6 separate regions of the Homo sapiens genome follow, and regions 1, 2, 3, 4 and 6 are each linked to region 5. The links are contacts of gene promoters, found by promoter capture Hi-C in human tissues and cell types (Jung and others, 2019). All regions are on one chromosome and are shown on one strand. The core of a region is centred on a gene start or on the middle of the fragment in contact, and the rest is flanking DNA. Distances in the headings are between cores, read along the strand shown. Region 1 overlaps MSRB3-AS1 (MSRB3 antisense RNA 1). Region 2 has its middle 31 kb from the start of MSRB3-AS1. Region 3 has its middle 26 kb from the start of LINC02425. Region 4 overlaps MSRB3-AS1 (MSRB3 antisense RNA 1). Region 5 holds the start of HMGA2 (high mobility group AT-hook 2). Region 6 overlaps MSRB3-AS1 (MSRB3 antisense RNA 1).

The links. Contacts are between HindIII fragments. The study calls those that stand out against the background at their distance.
Region 1: a contact is called between a fragment that was not itself captured here and the fragment with the promoter of HMGA2 in region 5, in 1 of the 25 tissues and cell types used here (IMR-90 fibroblasts).
Region 2: a fragment that was not itself captured here is called in contact with the fragment with the promoter of HMGA2 in region 5 in 1 of the 25 tissues and cell types used here (ovary).
Region 3: a contact is called between a fragment that was not itself captured here and the fragment with the promoter of HMGA2 in region 5, in 1 of the 25 tissues and cell types used here (aorta).
Region 4: a contact is called between a fragment that was not itself captured here and the fragment with the promoter of HMGA2 in region 5, in 2 of the 25 tissues and cell types used here (IMR-90 fibroblasts and mesendoderm cells).
Region 6: a contact is called between a fragment that was not itself captured here and the fragment with the promoter of HMGA2 in region 5, in 3 of the 25 tissues and cell types used here (IMR-90 fibroblasts, bladder and mesenchymal stem cells).

The regions. Positions count from the first base shown.
Region 1 is chr12:65,587,671-65,591,660 of GRCh38, forward strand. The region is part of intron 1 of MSRB3-AS1 (MSRB3 antisense RNA 1); the gene reads right to left. Among named protein-coding and RNA genes, the nearest start is that of LINC02454, 13 kb to the right of the region's middle. The HindIII fragment of the contact is 4,845 bases long and covers 89-3,990 here.
Region 2 is chr12:65,671,392-65,675,532 of GRCh38, forward strand. No RefSeq gene overlaps it. Among named protein-coding and RNA genes, the nearest start is that of MSRB3-AS1, 31 kb to the left of the region's middle. The HindIII fragment of the contact is 4,103 bases long and covers 53-4,141 here.
Region 3 is chr12:66,055,322-66,059,314 of GRCh38, forward strand. No RefSeq gene overlaps it. Among named protein-coding and RNA genes, the nearest start is that of LINC02425, 26 kb to the left of the region's middle. The HindIII fragment of the contact is 4,301 bases long and covers 471-3,993 here.
Region 4 is chr12:65,570,193-65,573,934 of GRCh38, forward strand. All of the region lies in intron 1 of MSRB3-AS1 (MSRB3 antisense RNA 1), which reads right to left. Among named protein-coding and RNA genes, the nearest start is that of LINC02454, 31 kb to the right of the region's middle. The HindIII fragment of the contact is 8,770 bases long and covers 1-3,742 here.
Region 5 is chr12:65,822,110-65,825,823 of GRCh38, forward strand. It overlaps HMGA2 (high mobility group AT-hook 2), which reads left to right and starts at 2,374. Exons shown (of 5, transcript NM_003483.6): 1 at 2,374-3,272. The coding sequence starts at 3,162. It also overlaps the pseudogene RPSAP52. RefSeq lists an enhancer at 3,494-3,714. The HindIII fragment of the contact is 9,780 bases long and covers 1-3,714 here.
Region 6 is chr12:65,618,633-65,622,640 of GRCh38, forward strand. The region is part of intron 1 of MSRB3-AS1 (MSRB3 antisense RNA 1); the gene reads right to left. It overlaps LOC105369806 (a long non-coding RNA gene), which reads left to right and starts at 3,664. Exons shown (of 4, transcript XR_945028.3): 1 at 3,664-3,733. The HindIII fragment of the contact is 3,074 bases long and covers 472-3,545 here.

The DNA of each region.
Region 1 (3,990 bases), core at 1,261-3,760, 230 kb before region 5:
CTGAAACATTGAGAAATGGCATGGTGAAGGGGGAAAAGCAATGAATTAGGACCCAGAAATTCATAGGTTTAGTCCTGGCTGAGCCATTAGTTTACTGTTGACCTTGGCCTTGGTTTCTCCATCTTTAAGATGGAGGTAGTAGTGCCTGCCTTAGTTCGCCCTCCAGAGTCACTGCGAAGATTAAATGCTATAATCTATAAGGGGGAAAACTTAGAAAACATTCTCATGCTTTGGCTAAGAGCTTTGGAAAGCACTTAGTTACGTGGAGATTCCAGGGAAGTTTCCTTCAGTTTTCTCTGCATTATTAGATTTCTTGTTGTAGAAAAGTGTGTGCGCTTTGTGAACCAGGTTTTCAGAGCCTCCAGATTTCCTTAAGTACAGCACATGTCCCTGAGGGTATATGGCACACACTTCCCTTTTAACAACTGCACATTTCACTTAATGTTTAGTGTTTCTGCTTCAAAATGAATGCTACTCCATGGCTGGTGTGGGTGAATAGCCCACACTGGTCTTAGTTCAGTTTGTGTCAGTGATTAGCTCAGCTGAAATTGGTTGGGAAAGGAGGAGAACACTGTTCAGCTTGATAAAAATAAAGTACATTCTTTCAATAAAGAGGGAGTGAACAGAAAGCAATTGACTGTGGAGAAGGCAGGTGACCTAACAACTACAGAAGAGAATTTAAAGTTTGGCATTGGAAGCCACTGACTTCCAATTCTAATGTGACATATTGAATTGTGTGACTTGGACATGCACACACATACATATACATGTGTACATGTTTATGTTTCTATACATATTTCTGCATGAATATGTAAATATATGTGTATTTATATTCATAATGCACTCTCAAGTTCAAAGACTCTGAGCCACATTAGTGTACAGTTTTATAATTTAAGATGATTTTGTTATCAAAAAATTGGAACTTCTACCTATTTAAAACTTATTTCTACTGTTTTAAGTGAAAATATTTAGTTGTAAACAGCAGACAGCCATTCTAAGGAAAAAAATTATTAAAAGGCCCCCACTTTTTTTTTGAGAAACAGTCTCACTCTGTCACGCAGGCTGGAGTGCAGTAGTACAATCATAGCTCGCTGCAGCCTCAAACTCCTGGGCTCAAGTGATCCCCCTTCCTCAGCCTCCCAAGTCGCTGGGACTACAAGCACACACCCCCACACCTGGCTAATTTTTAAATTTATTCTAGAGCTGGATCTCACTATGTTGCTTAGGCTGGTCTCAAACCCTTGGGCTCAGCCTCCCAAAGTGCTAGGATTACAGGCAAGAGCCACCATATCCGGCTCTTAAAAGGCTTTTGAGTAGCTCGTGGAATTGCCAGGTGCCTTAGAGAAGATTCTGAACTCTATAGCCAGGAACAATGCTCAGAATCAAATTGCAGAACCTTTCTGGTGAGGACATCATAGCTGCTTATGATCCCTAGATTCTATGGGCAGCTGCCACCACTACCAGAGTCTTCCTTGCAATGCGAGCTTCTTGCATCATGACTTCTAGATTCCAAGTATGCAAAGGTACATATTACTGGGGAACCTGGGCCACATGCTCGCGCCTAGCTCTAGAGAAATTTGGGAAACAATAAGTATGTATGCAGCATTTTTAGCTTCTGTACTAGTTGATAACATGAGCTTCCACCAAGAATCCTAAAGCGTGGAAGTCTTCAAATATGGGTAAGAAGTTCTGATGTTTATTGGACAACCAAAAAGAGTGACATTTGTGTACCATGACAGAGTAGTGCTAATAGATGCTAATTCCAAAGATAAGAGGCTGAGCCTGGCTTTCAGTCTTTAAGAAAGTATTTGAAAAACAGAGTCTATACAATGAATTCCTGATTTTAGGAAAAGCTGCACAGTCTCCCAGGAATACCCTGACAGATCAGAGCAGTAATAAAGCAACACAGCTCAGGCCTAAGGAGCAGATACTTCTAGAAAAGTTTCAACAACAGAAACCTGATTAAAAAAAAAAAAAAAGCATAGCCATTGATATAAAACATATGACACATATCTTAGTTGGACTCTCAAAACATTTCTCACTTCTCTACAACAAACAATGCTTCCAAAAATGGCCCATGCCCTGTCTCTAGGAGATGAATTGGATTCAACTCATCCCATTTCAGAGCACGTTTGATAGAGTTCATGTACCAAGCCCTTCCTGTGGGCTGAGGAACTTTCCGTGGGCTGAGGAACTTCTCAACTTCCACTGTTCCATAGTGGGGAAAAATTCATTTGGTAAGCTGTTAAAAACTCCTAGTCATTAAATGAAGTTTGCTCTGCCTTGGGTCAAAAATAAAAAGGCCTATTGCCTCTTAAATTACCATGTCTGAGGCCATTTGTAGTAGTTCCTTGCTATTCTTGAGGAGGAAAAAAAGGCACGATCCTCTGCAAAAATGGTAGTTATGCTCTTTTAGGAGCCACCTCCTTGACACAGGTGGGGAGGCTTAGTTGGGTGAGGGGTCCCAGCTAAGCAAACCTCTGGGAAGGCCCAGCCTGGGCATAGCCAGTGTGTCCTCATGCCAAGATCTTCCCAGAATGAGTCTTGGGAGGATTTAGGTCTCTGAGTGTGGAAAGCTGGGCAGGAGCCAGCACACCTTCTCCAGAGGCACAGAAACTTGGGGGCACAGTACCAAATAGCCATTCTTTCTTTACCTAGTCTCTAGTCACCCTTTGGAAAAAAGGTTTTAGTATTCATTTTAACATCCCACAATTGCAGAGTGGCCACCTGTCACCTCTCACCACAGATCCACAACCACAGTCCCCCCAGAGTCTCTGACAGAAGGTCCTGCTTGCAGAGGAAGCAATTCAACAGGCCTTTGGAAGGCAGCCGAGCAGCAGCAGGAGGCCTATTAAAACCACAATTTCAGAATCTCAGGGTGGGCATTTTCTTGTGGCGTATTAAGTAACACACCTACTCAAGTTACTGTGTGAACTCAGTGGACAGCTGCCCTTTCAGTGAGAAGCGTATGCTTGTACTGCGCTGTCCCTACCCCCACCACCCCCAAGTTCAATCACAGACCCTTCAGAGATGTTTGGCCTGAGAAGAGCAGTGGAAATGGAGTGAAGCTTGGATGAAGATGTCGAAGGCCAGGAGTCACCCCTTAATGAAGAGCTCCAAATGCCTGGGGGTTCACCCAAGGGCCAGAACCAGAGAACAGTTGCATTTACCCAAAATAGAGATAGACACAGGTAGAAGAATCTACTCGAAGTGGAAATGGCCTCTTTCTCATATTCGCCCTTGAAAAAATATGGGAGGAAGAACGGGAAATGGTGGTTCCGAGAATTGATTCTCAAGTCAGAATCATGTGCACTCAAATCACTTAAAGAATTGGCATGACCTTGAACAAATCTTGCTTACTCTCTGTTAAGTTTTGTTTTTCTCTATCATGATAAGAAATACCATGGTCGTGAGAAATAAATGAGATATTAAATGTAAAACAGGCCAGGCGCAGTGGCTCACACCCGTAATCCCAACACTTTGGGAGGCAGAGGTGGGCAGATCACCTAAGGTCGGGAGTTCGAGATCAGCCTGGCCAACATGGTGAAACCCTGTCTCTACTAAAAATACAAAAAAGTAGCTGGGCGTGGTGGCGTGCTCCTATACCCCAGCTACTCGGAAGGCTGAGGCACGAGAATTGCTTGAATCGGGGAGGCGGAGGTTGCAGTAAACTAAGATCACGCCACTGCACTCTAGCCTGGGCAACAGAGTGAGACTCTGTCTCAAAAAATAAAAAAATAAATAAATAAAATAAAATAAATGTAAAACAGGTGATACCTATAAAGCACATACTTTATGTATCAGTTATTTTAATGTTTTCATAGATAGTGGTTAAACTGGTGTGGTTACTATGTCCCTCTTTCCTCCACTTGGTAAATAAGATATATTTTCCTTTAAGGTAGGGTGATGTACTGTTTGTATTTAATGTTTTTATTTCATAGTGTGTTTCTATTTAATGAAAAACTTAAAGGAAAACTTCACTGTGTGCCA
Region 2 (4,141 bases), core at 854-3,353, 150 kb before region 5:
CTGATTTTTATATTCTTTCAACATGGCCTCATTTTCCTGGTGCCAAATGTAAGCCCACCTTGAGAGCAGGTTGTGATGCTTTGTGTCTTTACTTAGAGTTGAGAAGATCATACTGCCCAACATTCATCCTCCCTTTATTTGGAAACAGTGCCAGAACTTGCTTTGGGGGACCATGTTTCATCATCTATCAGACTGCGTGATTAGATGGCCTCTCTTCCCAACTCCAGGATTGGAGCTTATGATCCAAGACTGGCCAGTCAATAGCACTGTTGCTCCCTGAATTATAGTTATTAACTCACAAATATGCACTTGCCTCAAATTGATCCATTAAGAATGAATTCTGGGACTTTGGTGAGAATCACCAGGAAGAAACATAGAGTTTTCCTCTCAACTTGCATCTGGGAATATGTGTCCCTGGAGTCCGAAGTTAAAAGAAGGAAAGGCAAAACTAGGCATCAAGGATCTCGATAACAACACTCAAGTCCCTAAATCAAGTCACACTTGAAGTTAGCCTACTCCTAAGCTTTTCAATTGCCTGAACAAATAAATTTCTCTTGTTGCTTAAGCAAGATTGAATTAGATTTTTTTTTCCTGTCACTTAAAGCCACTGCCAACATGGCGAAGCCCTGTCTCTACTAAAAATACAAAAATTAGCTGGGTGTGGTGGCGGGTGCCTGTAATCCCAGCTACTCAGGGAGGCTGAAGGATGAGAATTGCTTGAACGCTTGAACTCGGGAGGCAGAGGTTGCAGTGAGCCAAGATCGCGCCACTGCACTCCAGCCTGGACAACAGAGTAAGACTCCATCTCAAAAAATAAAATAAAAATAAAATAAAAAAAGAAAATTATCATTTTAATTATTTAGCTGCCTGGTGGAGATGATGTGGTGGATGGGGCAGATAAACATTCTGAGCTGAGGTTGTATGCCAGGGACATTTGGATTTTATTTCATGAAAGTGTAAATTATTTCATCCTTTGGCCAGAATGCCATCACTACCATGGAATTTGTACCATGCCACAAAGTTCCATGGAGGGTAGGAGTGGGCAGGAATCCGATGTTTTCCTTCAAGAAGATAGGGCAACCCGACCAATCTCCAGAAAATACATTGATTGTGGGGAGTGGGGGATGAAAAGAATTGGAGGAAGGAATAGGAAGGTCCCTAGGTGATGTTGGGCAAAGCTACTGGAGGCAGCTAACCTGCGTAAGTGAAAGGACAATGGGGCCATTTAGGGCGGAGACTGGGGCAAGAGAGAGCTGGTCAGGAATGCAGGGAAGTGGCAGGGGAAAGAACACTTTCCAGATTGCATTCCCTAGAGGTTCTCCTTCCTTGAGTTATCCTGGACTTTCTTCACAAAAATAGGAATTAGTATCTGGTGGAAGTGATTATATTTGCCTAAGGCTGTGCTATACTAAAATAATATAGGGTGAAGATTTCATAATATTCCCACTTCAGTCATCACCTCACAACTTTACATTTCAATGTCTGACCTTGGGACAGCCCCTTCCAGTATCACATTAAGAATATTTAAAAGAAACAGGGAAGCCCACCAGTAAGTTAGCATCTCCAAAAGAATAGTAGTTGTCAGCCCAGGAGGTTCTATATTTTCAGCGGCAATTTAACACCTTGTCTAAAATTTTCAAGCACTTGAAAAATTCTTGTTTTACTCTTTACCAAGGTTTCACTAATTCTTTCCCCTTAACAGATTAAAAAAATGGCTTATAGGTTGGAAGATTCCTTTTGCATTATGTTAATAAAATAACACTTGACATGTTTAATACTAATTATATCAATGGGTTGAAGTAATAAGTGAAATAAAACCCAGTGAAACTTGTTTTTAAAAACATAAATAAGTAAATGAAGAGCCTACAAAGATATTAATGGTTTCCTTGGTCTTAAATTTTCAAGTGTTATTCAAAGCTCTTTGGGGACTGTAACCATGGAAGCCTATAGAGTTACTGTTACTTGTATTTGGCAAGATTCTCCATGTCAATTGTACAGTAAAGGCTCAACAAGAAAGAGAAATCCAAGGGAAAAAAATTGGCAGAAACAGAAGCAAATTATCCTGGTTTCATGTACAGGCTTTATGTACATGACTCAGAGAGGTATGAGGGACAGCCATCACACTGAATAAATATAAGAGGTGAGTTTTTGGAAGAAATTCAGATTATTTTTTATTTAAGGGAGTTAACTCAATTTAGCTTGAAAGAGTATTTATGTACATTAAAAGATCAGATATATGATCATGTTTTAGGAAAAATTTAAAGATTCTAAATATGGCATTACTTATAAGTATATAGTATGTGTGTTCATACCTACAAACATATCTGAAATTCTGATGAAGAAAATGTGGTTTATACTTTTAACATCAGTTCTAAAATTCACTTAGGAAAGTTCTTAGGAACTCCTAGAGATAAAAACATTAATAAATAAAGCCTAATTTTCATGAATGCTTATACTCAAGGGCTATTCAGCCTGAATTACACAACACATTTTGAGCTTTGTAACTCTTAGAGTGCATATAATTTTTAATTGACTTTTCCTTGGCAATGTCAGTATGTTTGTATTATATTCATGGGACTCCCTCTGGTGTATAACTTAACACATGAAAATTCTTGTTTTACTCTTTACCAGGGTTTTCTTGCAGCCTGATGGATAAGGTGTCTAATTATGAAGTACTGTGGAAAGCTCTGGATCAAATCATATGTTTTTATTGAAAATGAGGTCATGTTGGGTTGTGTGATATAACTAAATAATCAGTTAACCATTTATCCAAGCCAAACACAGAGTAATTAGGTTTGGTAAGATGGCTTCCTCCTTAAGATCCATAACTCAGGCCTGGTGGTTTGGGAACAATATGGATAGAAATTGTGTATGTTTTTCTTGGACATTTCAGTGATGGTATTTTCTAACTAAACTGTTTTTTAGATAGAATTTAATTTTACATTCATTTTTACTTTATGTGGCATTTGCTAAAAGAACATTTGCTAAATAATTATCTAAAATTATGTGGTCCCAAAATTTATTACTCAAGTAATAGAAGTCACAGGTAAACAACGACTTGGGAATTTCTGGATAATAATTTAAACAGTGATACCTTTAATCATCCATTATAATATTTTTGATAGTAGATTTTTAGATAGATCATGGAAGTATACATTTCAAATATATTGTTACATTTCCCCCAAAAAACATTGAAATGCTCTAGTTTTAATACTCTGCCAGTTCCAAATGCTTGTGATTCTTGTGTACTTATGTCTAGTGCTTGCATTTTATGCTGATGGAAAATGACACAGATGCTATATTTAAGTTCATTTGTTTGAATTTTGTCAAAACAACAAACTTAGATCAGTCAAAAGCTTTACATCCAAATAATGTGTAATTTTTAACTTTTTAAGGTGGGTACTTTGGCATAAATTCTTAAAATATAAGATTATTACACTAAAGAATTAGTATTCTCTTGTTTCTCTTCTTGGGATTATAACTGTACCTTCTATGAAGATACTGAAATTTGCTGTGTATTTCATAGCAAATATGGTGGATGACCATGAAAAACTGTTTTATAATTTAGCTTAGGCCTACTAGATAGTTTTTACATTCAACATTTATGCCTCAAAGGAGTATTGTAGTGTACCATTGTAGAATTTCCATATTCATCCTAGGTTTACTACTGATATGACTTCAAAAATGTGATATTGTCAAAACTGTGCCAGCTGTGAAATTAAAATTGGGCATCCATGAACAGCTGTATTGAATAGCTTGACATCTGTGAAATCAAAAGTGTATTTCGAATTCAACTTTCAAACCACAGAATTCAAGTAAGCAAAAACTGACCATGTGTTAAAAACACTTGAAACTCTTCCTCTTGTAACTGTTTATCTACATTTTAAAAACTCTGTTTACATTGTAGTAACAGCTGTGTTTAAAAGGGACATGACAGAGCAGACTAATTTATAATGCAAAACTCTATTCTAAAAAAAAACTTCTGTTTGAAAAAACACTTCAAAAGAGGGCAAAAATGATTAAAATAGACACAACCATTTGTTTAAACTATGACTTTCTCAAGAAAAAACAGCCTAATGTAAACTGGCCTATGCATGTTCCAAGCAGCTGTTCTGTGTAATGCCTCTACAAAACCTTTTCC
Region 3 (3,993 bases), core at 1,371-3,870, 230 kb after region 5:
TGTATATACTGAAATAAGCATAACGCTTTGCTGAATGAATAATTCTTTCTGGCCTTCACATTTTCCTCCATTTTCTCCTTTTCCATTGTCGTCATCAGCACCTCACTCAGTGCATATCAAATTATGTCCACATTTGTTTAAAAGATCTATCCGTTCACTAAGTCCAATTATAGGTCTTTCTTTTTTTCTTTTTCTTTTTTTTTTTTTTTTTTTTTTTGAGACAGAGTGTCACTCTTTCGCCAGGCTGGAGTGCAGTGGTGCGATCTCGGCTCACTGCAATCTCCGCCTCCGGGTTCAAGCAATTCTCCTGCCTCAACCTCCTGAAAAGCTGGGGTTACAGTCGCATGCCACCACACCGGGCTACTTTTTCATATTTTTATTAGAGATGGGGTTTCACCATATTGGCCAGGCTGGTCTTGAACTCCTGATCTTGTGATCCACCCGCCTCAGCCTCCCAAAATGCTGGGATTACAGGCATGAGCCATGGCACCTGGCCCCAGTTATAGGTCTTTCTACAAAACAATTTGATATTCTTAAATAAGACTGCCATCCAGATTCTAAGTTTAGTTTTCTTCAGTTGAGCTCAATACGCATTTATATAGGACCTACTATGTGCCTGATTCAATTAGGCTGGGTTGGTTATTTTCACAAGCTGATTGGGAAATGAAAACTACATTGTGGTGAAGCACAAGCTGGAATGAGGACAAGATGACACTTATCTCAATCAAAGAAGTACCAGTGGCAAATATGAGCTGTGGATAGACAGATCACTCAGCTCCCAACATATTTGAATTTGCTTTCATCACAGATCATTTTCAGTTCCCTTCCTAGACACTCCACCCACAGTCCTACCCAGAGAGCACAGTTGTTCGAAACTGTTTGCTAACACAGTGCTAGTCTGCCAAATACTGGTCCAGGATCTGACATTGCCAAATCTGCCTGCCTTTCTAAGAGGACCTGAGCAACCTATTTCTGAGAAAGCACCTGCTGAAGAAAGAAAGAAAAGCTTTAGCGCTAGATAAAAATAGATCAATATTACTGCTTGTCCTGAGAAGAAGTAAGGATGACTGTGTGACTTTTTTTCCCATGCTCTTCGAATTTTCCATAGTTAAAATGTAACTTTCACAATTGGAAAAAGTAACTTTTAAAAAGTAAATAAGGAAAGGTGTATCTTAAATTGGAGTGTCCTAGCATTAGAAATTATAGTATAGAGTCATTGTAATTGCTGCTGTTATCAGATATTCTTGTTTGTATTTTAAATTCAAACGCGTGTTAAATTCAATAATGTAGTCACTTTGAAAAAGGACCCTCAACAGAATACACACAGTTGCTTTTTTCTTGGATGACAAGATTTCAAGCATGAGAGAGATCGAAAATGGTTTTGTTTTCTTCCTTTTCCCTCCAAGTTTTCTAAAATAAGCATGAATAACTTTTATAAATTAGAAACATACCAATAAATGTTATTATTTGGAAAGAAGATTTTAGACTCGCTGAAGCCCACAGATATTTGGACTTTGCCCTAATTTATTTCTACTCTCCAAGATTTTGCAGGATTTCAGAGTGGTGGACAATTTCTTAAAATAACATTCAATAAATTCATTTGCTTTTATGATTTTATAATTAGATACCTTGTAAATATTGTTGATTTAAGTCTTTTTGGTGTTGGCATGAATTGAATTCAGGAAACTGTACAGTTAACACAATTCAATCTCATTTGGATATGGCCTTTTAAATGAGCAAGCATCAGATTGACAATGTAGGGTTTGTGAAAGTGTCTCATTACCTAGGATTATCATAATCCTGGAAATGACACATTTTTAAATTTGTAGATTCATTTTAAGACCACAGAGAAAGCTGAAAGAAGGATCCTATATTTATTGTGACCAAGTGTTCCTGGCCCACTATCTTTAATAGCCAAGACCACATTGCTCTATCCCCAGAGCTCTGTTCAGGAAGGTATAAAAGGTATGAACATTTAAGAGGGCCTGGTAAAATCTTCACCTTAACTGCTCAAAGTGTACCTCATTCTAGGGGTAAAACTTAGCAGCTTCCAACTAAAGGTGAGTGGCACATTTCTTAAAACAGATGTTGAAGTCAGTAAACTCAGTCTTTGTCTAACGTATCATCCTACTGGACCAAATAAGAGTTTAGGAAATTGAATTCGTTAAAACAAACAAACAAACAAACATGAAAAGGCAAACAAACATGAAAAGGCAAATGATAGAACTGGCCAGTTCCATTTCTAATGGCCTGAGTGGACTCATTCTAGAATTTTTTTTTTTTTTTTTTTTTTTTTTTTTTTTTTTTTTTTTTTTTTTTTTTTTTTTTTTTTTTTTTTTTTTTTTTTTTTTTTTTTTTTTTGAGACGGAGTCTCACTCTGTTGCCCAGACTGGAGTACAATGCTACAATCTTGGCTCACTGCAACCTCTGCCTCCCAGGTGCAAACAATTCTCCTGCCTCAGCCTCCCGAGTAGCTGGGATTACAGGTGCCCACCACGACGCACAGTTAATCTTTGTATTTTTAGTAGAGACAGGGTTTCACCATGTTGACCAGGCTGGTCTCAAACTCCTGACCTCATGATCCACCTGCCTCGGCCTCCCGAAGTGTTGGGATTACATGCATGAGCCACCGTGCCTGTCACATAGAATTTCTATGTTTCCACTTAATGACAATCTTTAACATTGAAAAACACAATTTAAGACATATAGTACTTTAAAATAATACTACTCAGAAAAAAGAGAAAGATGCACACATCAATCTGTTTTAACTTACAGGATCTGCATTTATAAGCCTAAAAGAAATTATACATTTTAAATACAACTCTGGATAATTGCCTTCTTCAATGGGTGCATCACTGAGAAGAAAGTTCTCTTAATACTTTATTCCATTAACAGCTTTTTCCACAAAGACTGGGTTGATCTTTAAAGATGTATTACTTTATTTTTTTATTTTTATTTTTTTTTTTTGAGACAGAGTCCCGCCGTGTCACCCAGGCTGGAGTGCAGTGGCGTGATCTTGGCTCACTGCAACTTCCGCCTCCCAGGTTCATGCCATTCTCCTGCCTCAGCCTCCCAAGTAGCTGGGACTACAGGCACCCGCCACCACACCTGGCTAATTTTTTTTGTATCTTTAGTAGAGACGGGTTTTCACCACACCATGTTAGCCAGGATGGTCTCGATCTCCTGACCTTGTGATCCGCCCGCCTCGGCCTCCCAAAGTGCTGGGATTACAGGCGTGAGCCACTGCGCCCAGCCAAGATGTATTACTTTAAGCAGCAAAGTTCAGCTCAGTGAATGGCCTACTGAAGGGCACACGAGCAAAGTGTTCAGCACTGAGACCCAGAGGCCACTGGTTTCTCTGCAAGGTTCTGTAATTACTGGTGAAGTCCTTGGGCCTGAGCTAGGCTGTCTGTGGTTTGCTTTGCATATACTGGGATGTGAATGGTAATGAAGCATATGGTTAAGGGCTGGCACTATTCTGCAGCCAGACTGCTTGTGTTCAAATACCCAGGTCCCCTACTTACTAGCTTGTGATCTTAAGTGGCCTATTTTAGTTATTTCTGCCTCTGTTGCCTTGCCTATGGATGAGGATAATATTAAAAATATCACTATATCATAAGGTTGTTGTAAGGTGTCAGTGAAGTTAATTCATGTAAAATTCTTCAGGCAATGCCTGATGCATAAAAAAGTGTAATGTAAGTATTAACTGTATTTATAAACGCAGTCAGTGTGAAGATACAAGTGAGAGAAAAATCAAGAAGGAAGTAAGAGCACTGCCGAAAATTGTCTTAGAAAAAATTACAAATGATATGAAAGTCATCTTAGAAAAAATTACAAATGATATGCATGGTTCTAAGTTATGAAGTCTCAGAGGGTTTGTTGGTTTTTTTTTTTTCTTCCTCTTCCATCTGGGTGAAAGTCTCCAAAAAATTTGAATAGAGACTTCTATATCATCATCCAAACTTTCCCATAAACAAAAAATAATCTCCCACA
Region 4 (3,742 bases), core at 835-3,334, 250 kb before region 5:
AAATAGAATGCACATACAGAAAAGTACATAAACCAAGCTCCTGTGAAATGACCATTTAGGTCAAGAATAGAACATAGTCATCTCTGAAGTCTTTCCATGACCTTACCAATCACATGCCCCATATCCTGAATTTTATGGTTGTATTAGTCCATTCTCACATTGCTATAAAGATACTACGTGAGACTGGGTAATTTATAAAGGAAAGAGGTTTAATGGACTCACAGTTCAATGGCACAGTTCATGGCTGGGGAGGCCTCAGGAAACTTAAAATCATGGTGGATGGGGAAGCAAACATGTCCTTCTTCACAGGGCAGCAGGAGACAGAAAAATGGGCAAAGGAGGAACTTGCCAAACACGTAAAACCATCATATATCATGAGAACTCTCTCACTATCACAAGAACAGCATGGGGGAAACCACCCCCATGATTCAATTACCTCCACCTGGTCTCTCCCTTGACATGTGGGGATTACGGGGATTAAACTTCAAGATGAGATTGTGGGTAGGGAACACAGCCAAACCATATCAATGTTAAATATTTCTTTTCTTTTTAGATCTATCACTATGCAATATAGTTTAATTTGCATGTTTTAGAAAAAACCTTATATAAACAGAACCATATACTGTGTGTTTTGCTATTTTTGCTCTACCTTATGGTTCTAAGATTGACCCATGCTGTTAGACACAGTTGTCCTTCCTTCATTTTTGTGGCTAGACCCAGATAAGTTCTGCTGAATAAAGGCTTAAGCAAGTCCTGAGCCCCCTCGGCTGGTACTTCACTGGTAATTCAGCAGGACTGGTTATTCTGTGTCTAGGGTTCTGTTGCAGAGAACAGAATACTCTCTAGCTAATTTAGGCAGGTAGCGATTTACTATAGGTTTTTAAGTGGCATAAAGAATTTTTGGAAGGAGAGACAACACAGCCTATAGAGTGAGCTTTTGGTTACCTTCCTTTGCCCTGCCCAGTTACACACAGTACTGGAAACCAAGGGAGCTGCTGCCACTCTAGGATCAGGGCTCCTCAGGCTCCAGCACCACATTGCCACTGCCTTGATCACAAAGCCACTGCAATCAGAGAACCTCCTGATTAAAAGGTATCAGGATTATGAAGCCACTAATGCTACATACTCCAGAACCATTCTGTTCCTGACACAAACTGCACTAGCAAAAATGGATGTCCATTGCCTTTCTCCTAAATACCCATGCAAGGTACCTATGCTAGCAACCAAATCTCTGCTGACATTGCCAAGAAGACCAAACACCTTTATAACACACCTGCCAGCAGAAATGGCAAAAGCAATATGAGGATATTTGGTTTGCAAAGCCTAAATACATCTGGGACTTTAGCTGAAATGTGTGAGAAAAAGTAGTCTTCATTGCACATCACGGCAATGGCTTTCAAATTTGGGATCAGAACCCATCATTAGCAGATCATGAGAACATTAAAAGAAAGAAAATAGAACAGAATAGAAAATATCAGAAATCATGAACTCAGTAAGCACAAGTACTATTTTGTAGTACACATATGTGTATACTGGATTGCAATATCAGATGTTTTTCTTACTGTGGGTTGAGTTATTTAAAAAGTTTAAAAGCCACTGCACTAAAAGGAGGGTAGAATAGGTATTGAGTGCCAATCAACCATATTCACCACAATTTCTCTTATTGAACATAGAGTTCAACTGTTGAACATGTTCAACAATGAGACTCTTGGCAGATCTTGTCGGCTAGTGTCTTCTAACAATCTACTTTGGAGCATCTTAGTGGTCTGGATCTTCTTTACAGCCTGAACAATTCAGAAACACAAGACACAATGCTGGTAGCTTGGATCAAATCCTCTCCACAAATGCCTTAAATTCAGCTAAGATCACTTAAGCTCCAGAAAAGATAGGATTTAGAAGTCTGTGTGTTGCCAATAACTGGTAGAGTGCTCTGACTGAGGACACAGATGGTTGTGTCTACCTGCCTCCCTTTCGAAGTCATCCTCCACAAGTCCCTTTGTGAGCTTTTAAAAACACAAACCTGATTATTTCACTTTTGTTTTAAAGCATTTGAAATATTCTTTGGCTTATGGCAGTGATTCATAAACTTGAGATGTTTGTTAAAATACAGATTCCCAGATCCTCCTCAGGGATTCTAACTCAATAACTTCAGGATGAGTCCCAGGAATCTGTACTTTTAGTGGGAACCGCTAGTGAATAAAAACTGGACTACTAAGCATGATCAAAACAATTTGTCCCACACCGACCTGGCCCACCTACAATTTTCCATTCTGTTTCTCCCTCCCCATCACCAGTCTCTCTTCTCTTACCTTCTTGCCGCCCTCCCTCTTTCTCCCATCTCAAACATCCTTACTCTCCCCTCACTTCCACCCAAAGACAAATAACTCACCTTAAAGAACCTAGCTCCAATATTACCTCTTTAGGAAACCTTTTATATGCTAATAAAGCTTTTTTGATACTCCATATATTTAATAATGCATTATATTGTTGTAATCATATTAAATTGTAATTACTAGTTGACATGCCATTTTTCCCTACTAAAGCTAGGACTGTATTAGGTACAATTAGTGTATCTTATTTTTTTTTATTATTTTATTTTATTTTTTGTCTTGCTCTTTCCCCCAGGCTAGAGTGAAGTAGTGCCATCTCGGCTCACTGCAACCTCCACCCCCTGAGTTCAAGCGATTCTCCTGCCTCAGCTTCCTCCTGAGTAGCTGGAATTATAGGCATCTGCCACCATGCCTGGCTAATTTTTGTATTTTTAGTAGAGACGGGGTTTCACCATGTTGGCCAGGCTGGTCTTGAACTCCTGACCTCAGGTAATCCGCCTGCCTTGGCCTCCCAAAGTACTGGGATTGCAGGTGTGAGCCACCACGCCTGGACATCTTATTTTTTTTATATTTCCAGTGCCTGGCACATGGTAGATATATCAACAATTTTTGTTTAATGAATGAATGAGTGAATGAATTATATATGGTTGGATGGTTAGATGGATATAACTGCTTCTCTAAACTATGGAATTAAAAAAAATATATGGATCCGCAGTGGAGATTAGGACTGTTACAGCTGGAACAGCTGATCATAGTTGCCGATGCCTTTGGAAAACTAAGTGCATATGGGTTAAGTCCAGGTTCCATGAAATTCAATGTGAGCCATCAATAATGTTGAATGTGGAAGGTGGAGGTTTGATTGGGAGCTGAATATTGGCATAGTATCAAAGTATCTCCCTGCCAAATACTTATGAAGAGGGAAAACATTGAGTTTATGATGGAGAAACTTAGTAGATGTCAATTTGATCCAGTGAACAGCAACTTCACTATTGGAGGGAGAGATTGGCCTCATGTGTCTCTTGATGTGATAGCCCAAGTAAAGTACAGCATCAGAGCATTCCTGCAAAGTAGTAATGGCCTGATTCTGGACATGAGGAATCATCAGATAAACTTAGGTAGAGGAATATCTACAGAATGAAGAGATAGAAAGATTGAAGAACTGTTCCAGAATGAAGAAGATTTAAAAATCTATGACAATTAAATGCAATGCATGATCCTGGGTTGACTCCTGGACAAGAAAATAAAGAGATATTATTGGGACAGTTGGAAAAACTTGAGAGTGTTCTGTTAATTAGATAGCAGTGTTATATCAATGTTGATTTCTTAATTTGGAGGGTTGTAAGGTGGTTATGTAGGAGAATGTATTTGTTTTGGAGAAATATACACTGGAGGAATTGGGAGTGATTAATCAT
Region 5 (3,714 bases), core at 1,124-3,623:
GTGATAAAGAAGAGGCAGTGAATGGTTGAGAAACATAAACTGGGGGAAAAACCCTCAGATGTAAATGTAAAAAAAAAATTCCTTTCCTTAAAAATAAAATCTAACCATTTAACATTATTTTAAAAATATATGAGAATCCTTTTTGAATAGTAAAAGTCTCAATAATTTCAAAGATTACAACAAATTTTAATGTTTCACCTACAGAAAGTATACAGAATTCTGAAAAATTAAATACAGCTTCCAAAGAATGAAAATATATAAAATTGATTTAAGTAGAACTTGATACAATATTTGTTTTATACCCTTGTTATAAATTCAAAAGGGGTCAAATAGTCTAATAGCAAAATGATAGCAGCCTGAAAACAAGTGGCTGTATATTCCCCCACCCCCAATTTTTCTGTGCTTCTCTTATATTCAAAGATTAACGCAAAAACAAAATTTTGGAATCTGCTCTTTGCTGACCTCTGTACACGTTACCAAAAAAAAAAAAATCCTAGGATATAATGAGGTATACAGCACAAAACTGGCTGGCTGAACTCCTCAGTGACTCCCCTGCATTCACCTTCAGAATTTCTCTCTACTCCTGGCAAAAAGTGAGCAAACAACACAAACCCAAAAACCTATTTTGTACGTGTATGTGAAATGTGCACACCACAGTGCAAATATGTGATAGTTTTTAAATGTGCACGATTGGCAGTTAGGAAATGTCACTGTAATCGTTAGGTGAAACTTCAATCCCTTTGATGAAGATACCATCTTTGAGCCAAGCCCTGACAGAAAACCTTTGGTTCCTGTTAGACCCCTCCCTCCCCAGTCAGCTGCTGGGCTCCATCCGGAGGGATGGAGGCTCTCTCTCTCCATTACAGCTAAGCGTTCCCAGACCCAGCAGAAACCCTGGGTTCCTGCAGAGCACTCAACGTGCAGCAAAGTGTCCCAGCTCTGCAAAGGGCAGCTGGAAATGGATTTAAAATGGCAACGCGGACCAATCAGCGCTGCCGCGCCAAAGCAGACATTTACACGCGCCTCCTCCACATGCACAGCGGAACCTGGCGGTGCCTAACTCCTGCTTAGGGCTGCAAAGTAGGCGTTTTTATTCCACGGTGGTCTGTATCTTTGAAAAAAATAAATTCTTCCCCAGGTGAAAGTTTTTATTTTGGAATTAGTCCAAAATAATTTTGGGTGTGATGTGTGAAAATCTGAACCTAATTTTTTCAGAGTTTTGTGTTATTCAAGGATGAAAAGAGGTACATTTAAAAATGTACTCCACCTTTTAAAAACGGACTGTGGCCATTATGGTGTTCACATAACTCAGAACAGCCCAGGCCATAAAATTAGGACTTGGCAGAAAGAGAGTTCTCAGGCAGAAGGTTAAATCGAGGTAAACTGAAGGGAGAGTTGGGCAGTGAGTGCAATTGTGGTGTTAGGAATCTACAAGGTGCCCTTTACCCTGGGAACATCGGATTCCCGGGGAGGGGGATGGGGAGGGAACTTCGGTTGCCTCTAGTCTTTCCTGGAGAAAAAAGTTCAATGAAGAAGCTGGGGCGCTCTGTGTGTGCACATTGTTTGCATGTGTCTGCGAATGTGCATGTCTATCTGCGTGCCTGTGTGTATGTGTGTGTGTGTAAATGCGGGTGTTTACCAGCGCATGAATGCCCCCGTGTCCACGTGTATCTGCGTGCATGTGCTTACACGCGTGTTCGTGTGTATCTGCATGCATGTCTCCGTGTATGTGCGCGCTCGCCCGCCCGCAGGCTCTGTGGTGAGGGCATTCCGAGGCGGAGTACGGCTGTCAGGGGACCTCTCCCACTCCACTGCAGTCCCTTCCCACTCACAGTGAACCGGTGCGCTGCCTGAGGTGCAGCCTAGACGCTTCCTGCAAAGTGTTGGCTCGGCACGGTAGAGGCGCAGGTAAAGGCCAAGCCCCGAAACGTGGCTCCGGGACAGTCACGTTCCCGCGCCTTCCCAGGACAACTGCCCAGGGGTGACCTCGAGAGGCGGGTGGAGCTAGGCCCACGGCGAGCCAGCCCGGGATCCCCGGCCTGTCCCTTTAACCCCGCCGCCGGGCGGGAGCACGTGAGCGGGGCTCCGGGTGGCACCCGGGCGCCGCCGCCGCCGAGGCAGTTGTATTTCGAACGCTGCCTCTGGCTAGCAGCCAGGCGCCTTGGCTCGGCGGTCCGCCTGGCCTCCCTCCTCCTCATACTTTTCTTCCTGCGCAACCCCCTCCCCTTTATCCGCCCACGATTAGAGGTGGGCACTCCCCCCACCACCACCCCCTCCCCAAGCGCAAGCGCGTGCACGCACACACACCACACACACTCACACTCACACACACTCACACACACTCATCCCACTTGAATCTTGGGGCAGGAACTCAGAAAACTTCCAGCCCGGGCAGCGCGCGCTTGGTGCAAGACTCAGGAGCTAGCAGCCCGTCCCCCTCCGACTCTCCGGTGCCGCCGCTGCCTGCTCCCGCCACCCTAGGAGGCGCGGTGCCACCCACTACTCTGTCCTCTGCCTGTGCTCCGTGCCCGACCCTATCCCGGCGGAGTCTCCCCATCCTCCTTTGCTTTCCGACTGCCCAAGGCACTTTCAATCTCAATCTCTTCTCTCTCTCTCTCTCTCTCTCTCTCTCTCTCTCTCTCTCTCTCTCTCTCTCTCTCGCAGGGTGGGGGGAAGAGGAGGAGGAATTCTTTCCCCGCCTAACATTTCAAGGGACACAATTCACTCCAAGTCTCTTCCCTTTCCAAGCCGCTTCCGAAGTGCTCCCGGTGCCCGCAACTCCTGATCCCAACCCGCGAGAGGAGCCTCTGCGACCTCAAAGCCTCTCTTCCTTCTCCCTCGCTTCCCTCCTCCTCTTGCTACCTCCACCTCCACCGCCACCTCCACCTCCGGCACCCACCCACCGCCGCCGCCGCCACCGGCAGCGCCTCCTCCTCTCCTCCTCCTCCTCCCCTCTTCTCTTTTTGGCAGCCGCTGGACGTCCGGTGTTGATGGTGGCAGCGGCGGCAGCCTAAGCAACAGCAGCCCTCGCAGCCCGCCAGCTCGCGCTCGCCCCGCCGGCGTCCCCAGCCCTATCACCTCATCTCCCGAAAGGTGCTGGGCAGCTCCGGGGCGGTCGAGGCGAAGCGGCTGCAGCGGCGGTAGCGGCGGCGGGAGGCAGGATGAGCGCACGCGGTGAGGGCGCGGGGCAGCCGTCCACTTCAGCCCAGGGACAACCTGCCGCCCCAGCGCCTCAGAAGAGAGGACGCGGCCGCCCCAGGAAGCAGCAGCAAGTCAGTACGAGGGCGCGGTGGGGGCACCAGCCCACCCCGTCCCCACTGCCGGGGCCCAGACACGCGCGGGGCGGCCGGAGTGCGGGAGCCCAGTCGCCGCGGCCGTCGCACACTGCCCGCCGGCCGGCCGGGGGGAGCGGCGCAGACCCCACGAGTGCGCCGCGCGGCCCCGGGGCGCCAGCAACCCTCCGGGCGGGGAGGTGGGGAGCCGCGGCGGGCGGCCCGGGGAAGGCGGGAGGTGGGGTCGGGCGAAGCGCGTCCTCGGACTTTCGCTATTGTGCACGGCCCCGAGTGGCGCGGTGTCGCCCAGTGACTGGAAGCGACCGGGATCCGACAAACCCGGGCTCGCAGGCGCTTTCCGAGTTGCTTTTGCAACTGCCCGGGAGGAAGGAGGTGCCGGGGACCCGGGCGCTTCGGCCGATCTGGGCTGAAGGGGCTAGAG
Region 6 (4,008 bases), core at 759-3,258, 200 kb before region 5:
TTTAATGCATTTATAAGTGATCCAACAATTTTAAGAATTTTACTACATAAAAAGCATTTTGTAATAAAATGTGAAAATGAAAGAATGAATAAGACATGGTTCTCGCTTCACTCATTTTCTACTTTCACGCTTCATGGAACAATTTTAAGTGTCTACTATGAGCAAACCCTTTTCCTGAATGTTGCAGGCAATAGAAAGGAAAAATAAGACTTGTTTCTTCCCTCTAAAAGCTTGAAATGTCATGGCAAAAACATATGCACAAAATAACTTTAATGTAAGACAGACTTTGGTAAGTAAGTGCTAAAATAATAGAGGTACAAAGTGCTTGGGGAGTATAAGAAATGGAGGGATTAAGACTGATGGGGAGAGGATCAAGAAAGGCTTCTCGGAGGAGGAAGGGTTTGAGCTTGGCCTTGAGAGATGGCTGGAAATTTAACAGGAGGCTCTGGGCGGGGGAGGAGAAGAGAAAGGGGTTGTATGGTCTCTGGGTTGCAGGGTTGTTCTATAGCGGGGTTTTGGTGTTTCTCTGGACAATTTTCAACTGTCACATGGAAGAGATGTGTCACACAGAAAATACACAGAGCAACTAGAAACTGGTCTGAAAATACAGCCACGTGACTTCAGTGAAGAAACATATCAGGCCTGAAGTGTGGGCAACAACAGTGACAGGTATAATTAGACATTGAGCAGATCAGTGTTTTTTGATTAATAAGCTTGTTCTTCCTATACATTAACTCATGGGCCTGAAAGGAACTTCAGGAAGTTACTTAGGTCACCCCTGACTATGTTTTTTTTTTTAATTATTATTATTCTTCCCTTAGCCTCAGCCCTATAATATGAGCTCTTCAAATGCTCAGACCCTTGGGCTCTGCATGAGGACCAATACAACTAATAAAATATAGTAGTGGCAGCAGTTGAAGCCGCCTTGTGATACCACTATTTTGTAGCCATATTAATAATATTGTGTGAGAATTGAGGCAAGGGTTTTGTGAGTCTTTCAGGGCTGCCCTTCTTTTAATAAGCCCCTGACAAGTTACAGCTTCTGCTTGGGGTAAAAGCTGATCACAGGACTTATGCACAATGGCTTCCACCGCCTTGCCTTAACAATTTATCCCTATCTAGCTACCAATTAGAAGCCTAAAGTTATAGAATGCTAGCGCTGGAGTAGTTATTAGGATTAATCTAACCCAAGCCCTTTGTTTTTCATTTTACAATGGAGGAAAGAGAATCTTAGGGGAAGTGATATGCCTAAAGTCACACAGTTAATGATTGGCTTACCTGAACTAGAACTAGAATGTAAATCTCTAAGTTTCCTAACTTTCAAATCAGTTTCTCTCTCCTGCAGCACACTGCCTTTTTTATTTGCATCAACAGTGTATGTGTGTATGTGCATTAATATTTCTAAGAGTTTGGCTTAAAGCATTCAGTAGGTGCCCATAGAATAATGTATGTTAAGCCAGAGAAGTAAAATGCATTGGATCAAAACATTCTCACTTGGAAAAAACATTAGAATCCTGGGAATTTCTTGAAATGCAAGAAAGCTCAGCCTCCAGGACTTGCAGTGTAAACACTGTGGCTAATTTGTTGAAGTGAGATGCCATTGATGATTCTCCCTGCCTTGAGAGATGACAGGGCTCCTTCGCAGAAAAAGCTGATTGCTGTAGCAGATTGCTAGGGGAAGGCACATTGCAAAAAGTGATCAGGAAAAGACAAGACATGTTACCAAGACAGATCATTTTTCTTGAAGAGGAGTTAAAAAAAGACACTAAAAAGGAATTCCTCCCATAAAGTTTGTCTTTCAGAGAGCAACCATTTCTACAACTCCGTTCCTGCCTAAAGAAGCAGGCTGTAACCTGGAGCAAAGCTTGGAGAGGCTAGTACATCAGTTTTACAGAAGCAGTTCTAAGAATAGTGAATATGGATAATACAGACAGCAACCCAGACACTTGATCCATGCGTTTGCTACGTAAAAGTTGGATGAGAATAACTTTCAACAAATTTACTTTCCAGTGACTTGTTATTTTTTAAATTGTATTCTTATTAATAAAAATGATACTTTGATACTGGGTATGTAACCAAAGGAAAATAAATCATTCTACCAAGAAGACACATACCCTTGTATGTTTATCACTGCACTATCCACAATAACAAAGACATTGGAATCAACCCAGGTGCCCATCACCGGTAGATTGGATTAAGAAAATGTGGCACATATACACCATGAAATGCTACAAAGCCATACAAAAAGAATGAAATCATGTCCTTTTCAGCAACGTGGATGCAGTTGGAGACCATAGTACTAAGTGAATTCACGAAGGAATAGAAAGCCAAATACCACATGTTCTCACTTACATTAGGAGCTAAACATTGAGAACATATGGACATAAAATGGGAGCGATAGACACTAGGGACTACTGGGAGGGGGGCATGGGTTGAAAAACTACCTATCAGGCACTATGTTCACTACCTTGGTGATGGGGGCTGTACTCCAAACCTCAGCATGGTGCAATATTCACATGTAACAAACCTGCATGTGTACCCCCTGTATCTAAAATATAAACTGAAATTAGAAAAAAAACAGAAGCCAACACCATGAGGTTTTCAGCTCCCCCATAATCTCCATAACCCTCTTTAGTCCTAAATAAACATAAATGTAAGTAAAAATAAATAAATAAAAAATAAAGATGACACTGTTTCTCCACTTATTTTCTTATCAAAGAAAAATGGCCACAAGCCATTCTGTAGAATAAGCTGCCTTATAAGAGTTTTATCCTTTTGACGTGATTTGATTTGAGGCTGTCCTTCTTTTCATTTGCTTTTAAATTCTATGTACAATAGAATAATTCAATTCCATGGGATATTTTTAAAATTCTTGTTTCCATCCATCAGTGAGTACTTTTCTTCTATTGCTATGAGATAATTTTTATTCTAATTCTACATGAAAATGGCAAATCAGATGTTAGAGCAGAAAGCTACCTTAGCAACCATCTGCTGCGATGTCCTCATGTTCTAGATGTAGGAATGTCCAGGGATTTCTTGATTTTTGGTGGCTCACCCAGGGGAAGACAGGGCATAAAATCTAGCTAGGACACACTTTCTGCTCCTACTCCTGTGCTCTTTCACTGCCAGACATTTCACCTTCATTAGAACAGCGCCTTAAATCATGTTTGTCTTAGGAAATATACCTCACTTTTCATATTTTAATGTGCTCACTTTCAAGGAAGCTTTAGAAAAACCATGAAATGCCTTTTATTTTTAACTTTAATTTTAATGAAAGGTGAAATTTTCTTTCTATATTAAATTCCAGGTAGGAGAGTTACTATTAATAAGTTAGTTATGTTTATTTGTGGCTACATTAGTCAGATTTGGGCTATACTAATTCTGGGTAGCAAACAACTATGAAATCTTAGTGGGTTCAACAATAAAGTTTCACTTTTTGGCTAAGGATCTGTGCATTGGCAGGCTCTAGGTGAGTTCAGGTTTGCTCTACCTAATTTCTCACTCTGGTAGCTGACTGGGACTTGCTTGTTTCATGGCAGATGGCAAATGCCCAAGAGCGCAAACCGGACCATGCAAGTGCCATGAAGCCTCTGTTCAGAACACATCTGCTCACATCCCATTGGCCAGAAAAAGTCACATGGCAAAGCCCAACGGCAGAGATGAATGCCTTGTCCGCTGTACAGAAGCACTGCAGTTATATGACAAGGCGTGTGGATGCAAATGCTTTTATAGGGTGAGCACGGAGAATTGAGCCTAGTATTCCAACCTACTACTTGTGAAAATTAAAATAGAAAGAAATTGTTACTTTTCTCTAAAATTGGAAATTAAACTATTGAATTCTCCAAGATGCCTAGATTAAGACAAAGCTTTATTTAAAATTTAATTTTCTGAATGCCTTTGGTTTTCTTGTATAATCTAGTACAGTTTAGGTTATTTAGATACTCAGTAAATACTTGAGGGATTCATAAATGCTGTGTCCACTAAGTAACTACTCCTTTTGTAACATTA